3 separate regions of the Homo sapiens genome follow, and regions 1 and 3 are each linked to region 2. Evidence: promoter capture Hi-C in 16 types of primary human blood cells and fetal thymus (Javierre and others, 2016). All regions are on one chromosome and are shown on one strand. Each heading gives the region's core, a stretch centred on a gene start or on the middle of the fragment in contact. The rest is flanking DNA. Distances are from core to core; before and after follow the strand shown. Region 1 has its middle 3.2 kb from the start of LINC00940. Region 2 holds the start of FKBP4 (FKBP prolyl isomerase 4). Region 3 has its middle 2.1 kb from the start of DCP1B.

What was found. The method cuts DNA at HindIII sites, captures the fragments that hold promoters and counts their contacts. A CHiCAGO score of 5 or more calls a contact.
Region 1: a fragment that was not itself captured here is called in contact with the fragment with the promoter of FKBP4 in region 2 in 1 of 17 cell types (naive B cells); the score reaches 6.0 in naive B cells.
Region 3: a fragment that was not itself captured here is called in contact with the fragment with the promoter of FKBP4 in region 2 in 2 of 17 cell types (naive CD4 T cells and activated CD4 T cells); the score reaches 5.6 in naive CD4 T cells.

Annotation. Positions count from the first base shown.
Region 1 is chr12:1,938,459-1,941,158 of GRCh38, reverse strand. No RefSeq gene overlaps it. Among named protein-coding and RNA genes, the nearest start is that of LINC00940, 3.2 kb to the right of the region's middle. The HindIII fragment of the contact is 230 bases long and covers 1,243-1,472 here.
Region 2 is chr12:2,793,589-2,796,288 of GRCh38, reverse strand. It overlaps FKBP4 (FKBP prolyl isomerase 4), which reads right to left and starts at 1,319. Exons shown (of 10, transcript NM_002014.4): 1 at 1,045-1,319. The coding sequence starts at 1,149. All of the region lies in intron 2 of ITFG2-AS1 (ITFG2 antisense RNA 1), which reads left to right. RefSeq lists silencers at 271-680, 1,031-1,090, 1,121-1,500 and enhancers at 1,350-1,894, 1,895-2,440. The HindIII fragment of the contact is 2,886 bases long and covers 1-2,700 here.
Region 3 is chr12:2,005,247-2,007,946 of GRCh38, reverse strand. It overlaps a transcript of CACNA1C not described here. Among named protein-coding and RNA genes, the nearest start is that of DCP1B, 2.1 kb to the right of the region's middle. The HindIII fragment of the contact is 1,529 bases long and covers 560-2,088 here.

The sequences.
Region 1 (2,700 bases), core at 108-2,607, 860 kb after region 2:
CTACATTTGATTGGTGTACCTGTAAGTGATGGGGAGAATGGAACCAAGTTGGAAAACACTCTTCAGGATATTATCCAGGAGAACTTCCCCAACCTGGCAAGGCAGGCCAACATTCAAATTCAGGAAATACAGAGAACACCACAAAGATACTCCTCGAGAAGAGCAACCCCAAGACACATAATTTTCAGATTCACCAAGGTTGAAATGAAGGAAAAAATGTTAAGGGAGGCCAGAAAGGTCAAGTTACCCACAAAGGGAAGCCCATCAGACTAACAGTGGATATCTCTGCAGAAACCCTACAAGCCAGAAGAGAGTGGGGGCCAACATTCAACATTCTTAAAGAATAGAATTTTCAGGGGCCAGGCGCGGTGGCTCACACCTGTAAGCCCAGCACTTTGGGAGGCTGAGACAGGTGGATCACGAGGTCAGGAGATCGAGACCATCCTGGCTAACACGGTGAAACCCTGTCTCTACTAAAAATACAAAAAATTAGCCGGGCATGATGGAGGGCGCCTGTAGTCCCAGCTACTCGGGCGACAGAGCGAGACTCCGTTTCAAAAAAAAAAAAAGAATAGAATTTTCAACCCAGAATTTCATATCCAGCCAAACTAAGCTTCATAAGCGAAGGAGAAATAAAATCCTTTACACACAAGCAAATGCTGAGAGATTTTGTCACCACCAGGCCTGCCTTTCAAGTGTTTTTGTTTTGTTTTGCTTTTAGAAATCACGTCCTTCAGTACACCTGGTACTAAGAATTGAGCGGGTAGGAAAATTCTTTGCTTAGGTCACTCAGTAAATGCCAAGCTTAGTATGTTTCCTTAAATGTATGGAGCCACTTCAGAAGAATCAGTGTCTCTGTGAGAAGGGCTGTTCTCAGAGCTTAGTTCTTTATTAATAAGTCTGGTGGTTCTTTGAGCAGTGTGTAACTTCCATTGGGGAGCTCCGTGCGCACAGTGCACGCCGACCACCAGGTGGCAGTGTCGTCCCACAAGTTAACCTACAAAGGCTTTAATGAGCCTTTGGAAGTAACGACGGTTTTCTTTTACCAGACAAAGTAAACCTTTCATTTGTAAAAACCCAGTTGGCATGTTTTACCCAATCCTTTGAAGGAAGTTATTTCTAAAGGTATTTATAGCTAGTTTCTAGAGGATAGATGTTCTAGGAGTTGACAAATGGCCCAGATTTCCAGCAACACTTCATCCATCCCAGCCCATGAAGCAGCAGGATGTGCCCGCCTAAGCTTCCGAATGGATAGTATATCACCCTTAGCAGAACACGCTGAGGCGGAGGGCACAGGAGATTGTCACTGTGATGTTCAGGGCGTCATGATCTGCAAGCTGTGTAGCAGATCGAGTTTTATGTTCGCAGAGATGAGGAGCTTAATCTTGGAAGGAGTCAGAAGAGCCCCTGCCAAGTTGTTAAGAGTATCTATGGGAATTCGTCCCTGCTGAGTATTTGTAATAAATAAAGCTTTGCGTTTCAATAGCACTTCTTATTCTCGGATAATAAAAAGATCTTCGATTACTGCACAGCCGACAGGTGTTTTATTCTCATTTTATAGTTCATAAAATGGAAGCGTGAGGAAAACAGGTTTCCCTACCGTTTCTGAGACCTGGGCTTGGACTTTAAGCTCTAGACCTTTGTTCAGCCACAGCATCGAGTGAAAGCATTGTTAGAACACCACCTCCCCTACTCTCCCGCAGGAGGGTGCTTTTTCTTGTGAAGAGAAAGGGTGGGTGGAAAAGGGATTGACTGTTACTGAACCCCTGTTATGTGCCAGACCTTGGCGAGGAGTCTGCTGTGTTACCCTCCAACATTTAGGAAGGGGTGAGTTCTTTTGTTTCGTTGGTATCTCCTACAACATCTAACATAGTGATAAACCATGCAAAGTTTTCACAAAACACTTGAAATTAATAATTGCATATATGGTATCTCAATATTCTTATAAGGAGAACAGGGCGAGGACAGAGACACACTTGGATCTGTTATTCAAAGTCAGTGATCATAGTGCTTGCCTCAGCGATACATGCACAAAAATGGGACAAAATCAATGATCTGATTAACTGCTGGATTCAAAGTCAGTGATCGTAGTGCTTGCCTCAGCGATACATGCACAAAAATGGGGCAAAATCAATGATCTGATTAACTGCTGGCAACCTTAACAATGTATCTTTGATCTTAATTACATGTTTAGAGTTGCTTCGCTAGCTAAGGAGAGATGAATTCCATACTTAATGTTCCTAACGTATTTGCAGTAGCAAATGGCTAATTTCATGAAATATTTATTCTTTTGCTTCAGAACCGAGTAAATAAAACAGAAAGAATATCAGTTGCCGTACCTAATGTGAGAAGGTGCCCATGTTCTGATGCGACGGGGGAACAAACCCAAGCCCAGCATGGTCAGACCTGCCCTGCAGGCTTCAGTCGGGCCTTTCTAGGTCAACACCACAGTCATCTGTTTTGAAAAATAATAAATTCTCCATCCTTTACTGGAATACATCATTTTGAAAGGGACAGGCCCAATTCATTTAGACCAAAGACGAAGTCACCCTTCAAAGGGCAGTTGGTGATGGAGTGCTTATTTCTTCTATACAGCAAAGCAGATGAGAGTGTCTTTGTACAAAAGGACTTTCTCTAGTGAGTCCAAGAAATAGATCAAAAGGGTTATCTAAGGCACCCAAAGCTAGATTTCATAAATAA
Region 2 (2,700 bases), core at 70-2,569:
CAGACGCTTGAGGTCCCCAATAATCTGGTGCAAAGACAGATGCACTTCTGGACCAGGTAAAGGCCCCCTGAGGTGGGTGCCGCACACGCGGAGCTCAGCGGTGGGAAGCCAGGATGAGGACGCAGCAGCGGATGGGGAGAAGGCATAAGACGCAGGCTGGGAATTCACCATCTCTGATTCTCCCTGGAACCTGCTCCGACCCAAGGCAGGTTGTCCTGGCCCAGGTCAAGATGCCCTCCCCGCAGCTCCCCAGGCTATTTGTAGTCGAGCGGTCACTCGGCGGCAGGCTCCACAGCAGAGCGCCTCCTCCCCGCCCCACACCCCGCAGCCCTGGCTCCGGGAGGCGGCGGAGGGGGGAGGGGACTACAGCTCCCGGCATGCCCCGCGCCCGGCCTCCCCGGGGCCGAGGGAGGGGGCGCCGCGCGGCGAGTGGGGACCTCGCTGGGTCCCGGCGTCGGCAGGGGACCCCGGGAGGGCGCCGGAACCCTGTCGCGCCTGCGTCGCACAAAGGCCGAAGGGCCAGGAAAGCACTGTGGGGAGTCGCTCCCCGTCCTGGCCCGTGTTCCACCGCCCGGGTGGGCGAGCCCTGGCACCGCCACCAACGAGGCGGCCCGCGGCTGGCAGCTCCGCTGGGGCCGCGAGGTCGGGGGCGGCGTGGCGTGGGAGGCCCGGCCTGGCCCCGGGCTGCGGCTCGGGTGCCCGCGGCGGTCGCCTCGCCCCGCCCCTCTCCGCCGCCCCGCGCGCGCCGGGGTGGGCACTGCAATCCCGACCCCCTGCCCGGGCCCGGGCGCTGCCGGCTGGGGAGCCTGGGGCCTCGGCCCGCGCACCTAGGCCGCCCCCCTGCCGAGCGCATGGCCGGCCTCGGTGCCTTAAACGACGCAGCCCGGTCCGGGACGGCGATGCCACCGGCCCCCGGCGGGACGGCCGCGAGGCTGCAAAGGCGGCCGCCTCGACCCGTGCCCGGCCGCGGGCTCCGGGCGCGGCGGAAGGGCGGCCCGCGGGGCCCCGGGTTCCGACGCCTCCGCAGGCCCCGCCGCCCCTCACCTTCAGCACGCCTTCGTCCTGTTTGGGGCTGATGTCCACTCCCTCCATGGGCAGCGGCGCCGACTGCGCCCCGCTCTCGGTCGCCTTCATCTCCTCGGCTGTCATCTCCGCGCGGCGCGCCGTTTATCCGGGAGCTGGTGCCGGCGCGAGCGCACTCTGGGCCGCGGGCGGGGGCGCTACCTGCGGGGCGTGCGGGAGGCCGGGCGCGGCGGCACTGACTGCGGACCGCGAGGAGGCTTGAGCACCTCTGCACGCGGCGCGAGAGCTGGGGTAGGTGGGTCAGGAGCGGCTCGGGGAGCGATTGGTCCCGCCCCGCCGCGAGGGAGGGGCTGGGAGGAGCGGGAGCGCAGACAGAGGGGGCGGGGTGCAGAACTTTCTAGAGACGGCGGGACTGAGCCGGTTCGGGCTCAGTGCTGCGGGCGCTTCGGAATTTTTTTTTCTTTTTTTTTTTTTGGTTCTTGCCTCCTTCTGGCTGCCTGCCCCCTCCCCCTTCTCCTGGGACCCTCGGACTCGGGATCTCCCCGGCGGCCTCCCTTGGCCCTTCCTCCCTCCCTCCCATCCCCGCCCGCTTCCCTGTCTAACCGGATTCTTCCAGATTCTTCTCGATCGATCTCCCGACATCACTCCACCAGTCCGCTGCGCCTGCGGCGGGGTGTGGGGAGCGCAGGCTGCGGGATGGCAGTGGCGGCGCCCCCTCCCCGGGACCGGCCGTCACCACGGGCGGCGTGGCCTCTCTGCTATGACCCGCGTAGACCCTTCCCTACTTGGGGGAAAGAGGGCAAGGGCGTGCGCGGGGAGCGGGGAGTGAGTGGACAGCGCTGCCCCGCTGCAGAGAGCCGGGGAAAGCGACCTCGATTTCCCCAGATCCGAGAAGCCCCGGCCAGGCAGCGATGCCTCGCTCAGCGCCTGCAGATGCTGCGAGCAGCGGGGTTGGCAAGGCATGGCCCGCCCAGCTCGGAACTCAGATGGGGCACACACTCAGGGGACCCTTCCCGGCGGTAATAAAACTGCCGTTTCCGCGAATGCTTACAAAGATGGGTTCCCCTCACGAAAAAAGTCACTCGGTTTTCCTAAAGGCCCACAGAAGGAGTATTTTCTTCTCAATGTTTGCTTCCCGAGTGTTTTTCGACAGGCTGTGGAGCGCGCAGGTGCCGGTGTCACCTAAGCTATGGTCGTGGGACCTAGAGAGCCATCTAGAGAGGGGCCTGGTTTTGCTCAGCACCTAACCCCAGTTTAGCATAGTGCCTGGTGAGTGATGTCCCAATAGTTACTGGCTGCATGAATTTTCCTTTTTTAAATTTCTTTTTCCAAGTCTTGGCTGATTTTTTTTTCTTTTTTTTTTTTTTTTGAGACAGGGTCTTGCTCTGTCGCCCAGGCTGCAGTGCGGTGGTGCGATCTTGGCTCTCTGTAGCCGGGACTACAGGCGTCCGCCACCACGCCGACTAATTTTTGTATTTTTAGTAGAGACGGGGTTTCGCCATGTTGCCCAGGCTGGTCTCGAACATCTGGTCTCAAATGATCCGCCCGCCTCGGCCTCCCAAAGTTCTCGGATTACAGGCGTGAGCCACTGCGCCCAGCCTGAATTTTTATTCCAATAATAACTGTATTTTTGGACTTCCCGTTATGTGCCCGGCACTGTGCGATTGGACGCCATTA
Region 3 (2,700 bases), core at 75-2,574, 790 kb after region 2:
TGTATATGTAACGTAGTAAATAAATAAGTCTAAGTCAGGATAAAGTGAGCTAAGTGCCACAAGAAAAATCGCAACAGAATGCAATGAGGATTCATAGGCTGAAAGGATTGTATGGGAGAAGACAGGAGGTGAGTTTTCCAGGAAAAGGTCATTCCAAGCTAAGAAGACAGATGGGCAAAGGTACAGAGATAGGAATGTGTAAGATACTTGGGAGAAAAGAGTTCAGATACAAGGAGGTTAGAACAGAAGATGGGTTGTTTCATTAACTCTAAACACACAAAAAATTAACTCTTCTCTACTAAGGGTCATATTAGCATGTTGTTCACATATGTGAAATTTTCCCCGTAAGCAAAGTAAGGGTATCTTCATCTTACTCATCAGTGAGATCAAAGACTGGAGAAGACATGACCATGTAATTTCAGCACAGACACAAGAAGCAATAATAAATCATGAAGAATTAATGAATTTCATCAAGTGAGCACTCCATAAATGCTTTGCAATTGTAGTCATACAGATCACTAAGACTTGTATACACTTTTGTTTTATGAACATTTAAGCTTTTACAATGGCCCCTATATTGCCTGTCTTCTCTAATGAGCTCAAAGCAATTCGTTCTTTGGAGGCCATGATCTATTCTTTACACTTTAAAGATGGAAAGACTGAAAAATTATGAGGACAATGATCTGTGTAAGGATCATGGAACTTAACAGACAAAAGAAAAACAATGCCTCATTATATGTACGAGGGAAATGCAAAGTAGAATCTGTGGGTTCATGCTGAAAAATCAAAATTAGAACAGCTAATCAAGTGAGAGAGTGTGACTAGTTCAAGAATTAATCACAAAATTCTCCATTGCCCATATTACAGATTAAACTTGTTTTTAGAAGCACATATGTGATTAAGAGCAAAGAGGTCAGTAACACTGGAAAAAGGTAGTGAACTAACATGGAAAGTTGTCTAGTCAGCTTTGTGTGGTTGCTCAGTTGCTGCAGCCCTATGTTTTTCAAACTACAGGTCACAATCCATTAGTTGGTCATGAAACCAATTTACAAAGTCACAAATAGCATTTTAAAAAATGTCTGTATACTTAGTATTGAAACATTTATTCTAGTTAATATCAGGTATAAATATATAAACATATGTTCTCAGTCAGACTGCAAATGACCCCAGCCTCAGTCAAAAAAAAGTTGTTTGAAAGCCATTGCTGTATTCTTCCCCACTGGGAAGTTAGGCTTGGGAGTCAATAGGACTGAGACTCCAAAATGCAGCTTAACCAAGAATTTCAGTACAATTGAAATTGTGACTGCAAAGATTATATTGCAACATATTATTATGAGAGGGTATGTGTGCCGTATCTATGATATTTCTATATCAAATAGGTAAGAATTTATGAATGTGAGTAGTAATGTCTGCACAGTTGTTCTAATATTTAATGCTAGATAAATGGTTTAGATCAACCATTCTCAACTTTTTAGTCTCAAGACTCCTTTACACTCTTAAAAATTATTTTTTTAATTACTTTTTATTTATTTTATTTTTGAGATGGAGTCTCGCTCTATCACCCAGGCTGGAGTGCAGTGGCAGGATCTCGGCTCACTGCAACCTCTGCCTCCCGGGTTCAAGCGATTCTCCTGCCTCAGCCTCCCGAGTATCCGGGATTACAGGTACCTGCCACCACTCCTGGCTAATTTTTGTATTTTTAGTAGAGACGGGGTTTCACCATGTTGGCCAGGCTGGTCTTGAACTACTGACCTTGTGATCCGCCCGCCTCAGCCTCCCAAAGTGCTGGGATTACAGGCAGGAGCCACCGCACCTGGCCCACTCTTAAAAATTATTAAGGACTCCCTCAGAGAACTTTTGTTTATGTGAGTTATACCCACCTATATTTACCATATTGGAAATTAAAAATAACTTTAAAGACCCCGGGCTATGTGTGTTTTGTTTGGAGTATATGAAGAAACTCTGGCCTCATATGTAGATAATGTAGTTGGAAAAGAGATGGATATTTTAATAGAGTTTTTCAGACAATTGTGGATATTCTTCTTGGATAATATACCAAAACTTGACAAGCTGGAGTTTCTCAAAGCTTAGCTGCAATGTACTATCTGAAATCCTATTAACTTTTCATACTGTTACATTAAAAATCCATTAGTCCACCTTGTCCTTGAATGGATCTTTTGCCTGTGCATGATTATGTAGCATGAGACATTGGTCTTTTGGAAAATACTGGACCACTGAGTTAAGCAGATCTTTGAGATATTGACACTTTCCATTATACAAGATTTGTTAAAATTGCGCTCATTAATATCATCACTGATCTCATCAGAAAAAAAAACATTAAGTACTGAGATGTCAAGCTCATGGCAGTAGATACACATTTTCTAAACTTTTAATTCTGGCTTGAAGGCTTAAAAATTATCATTGGCAGCAGTAATTGTCCCTTGTTTTCCTGAAAGTGACAGGCACACTTTATTTATTTTCAGAAAAATGTCTGTCAAGTACCTGTTTGAATAATCATAGTTTGCCCATCTTTCTTTCAAGTAAAAATGTTTTATGAAAATAAAAATAAAAACATGAATTCGGCCTACAACTCAAGCACAGAAGTATTTTCCTAGAGACAAATATGACACACTTCATTTTGCAGCAGACGTGCTTTATGCCTATTTCCTATTTTTTCATGCAGAATGTTAAAAAGAATTG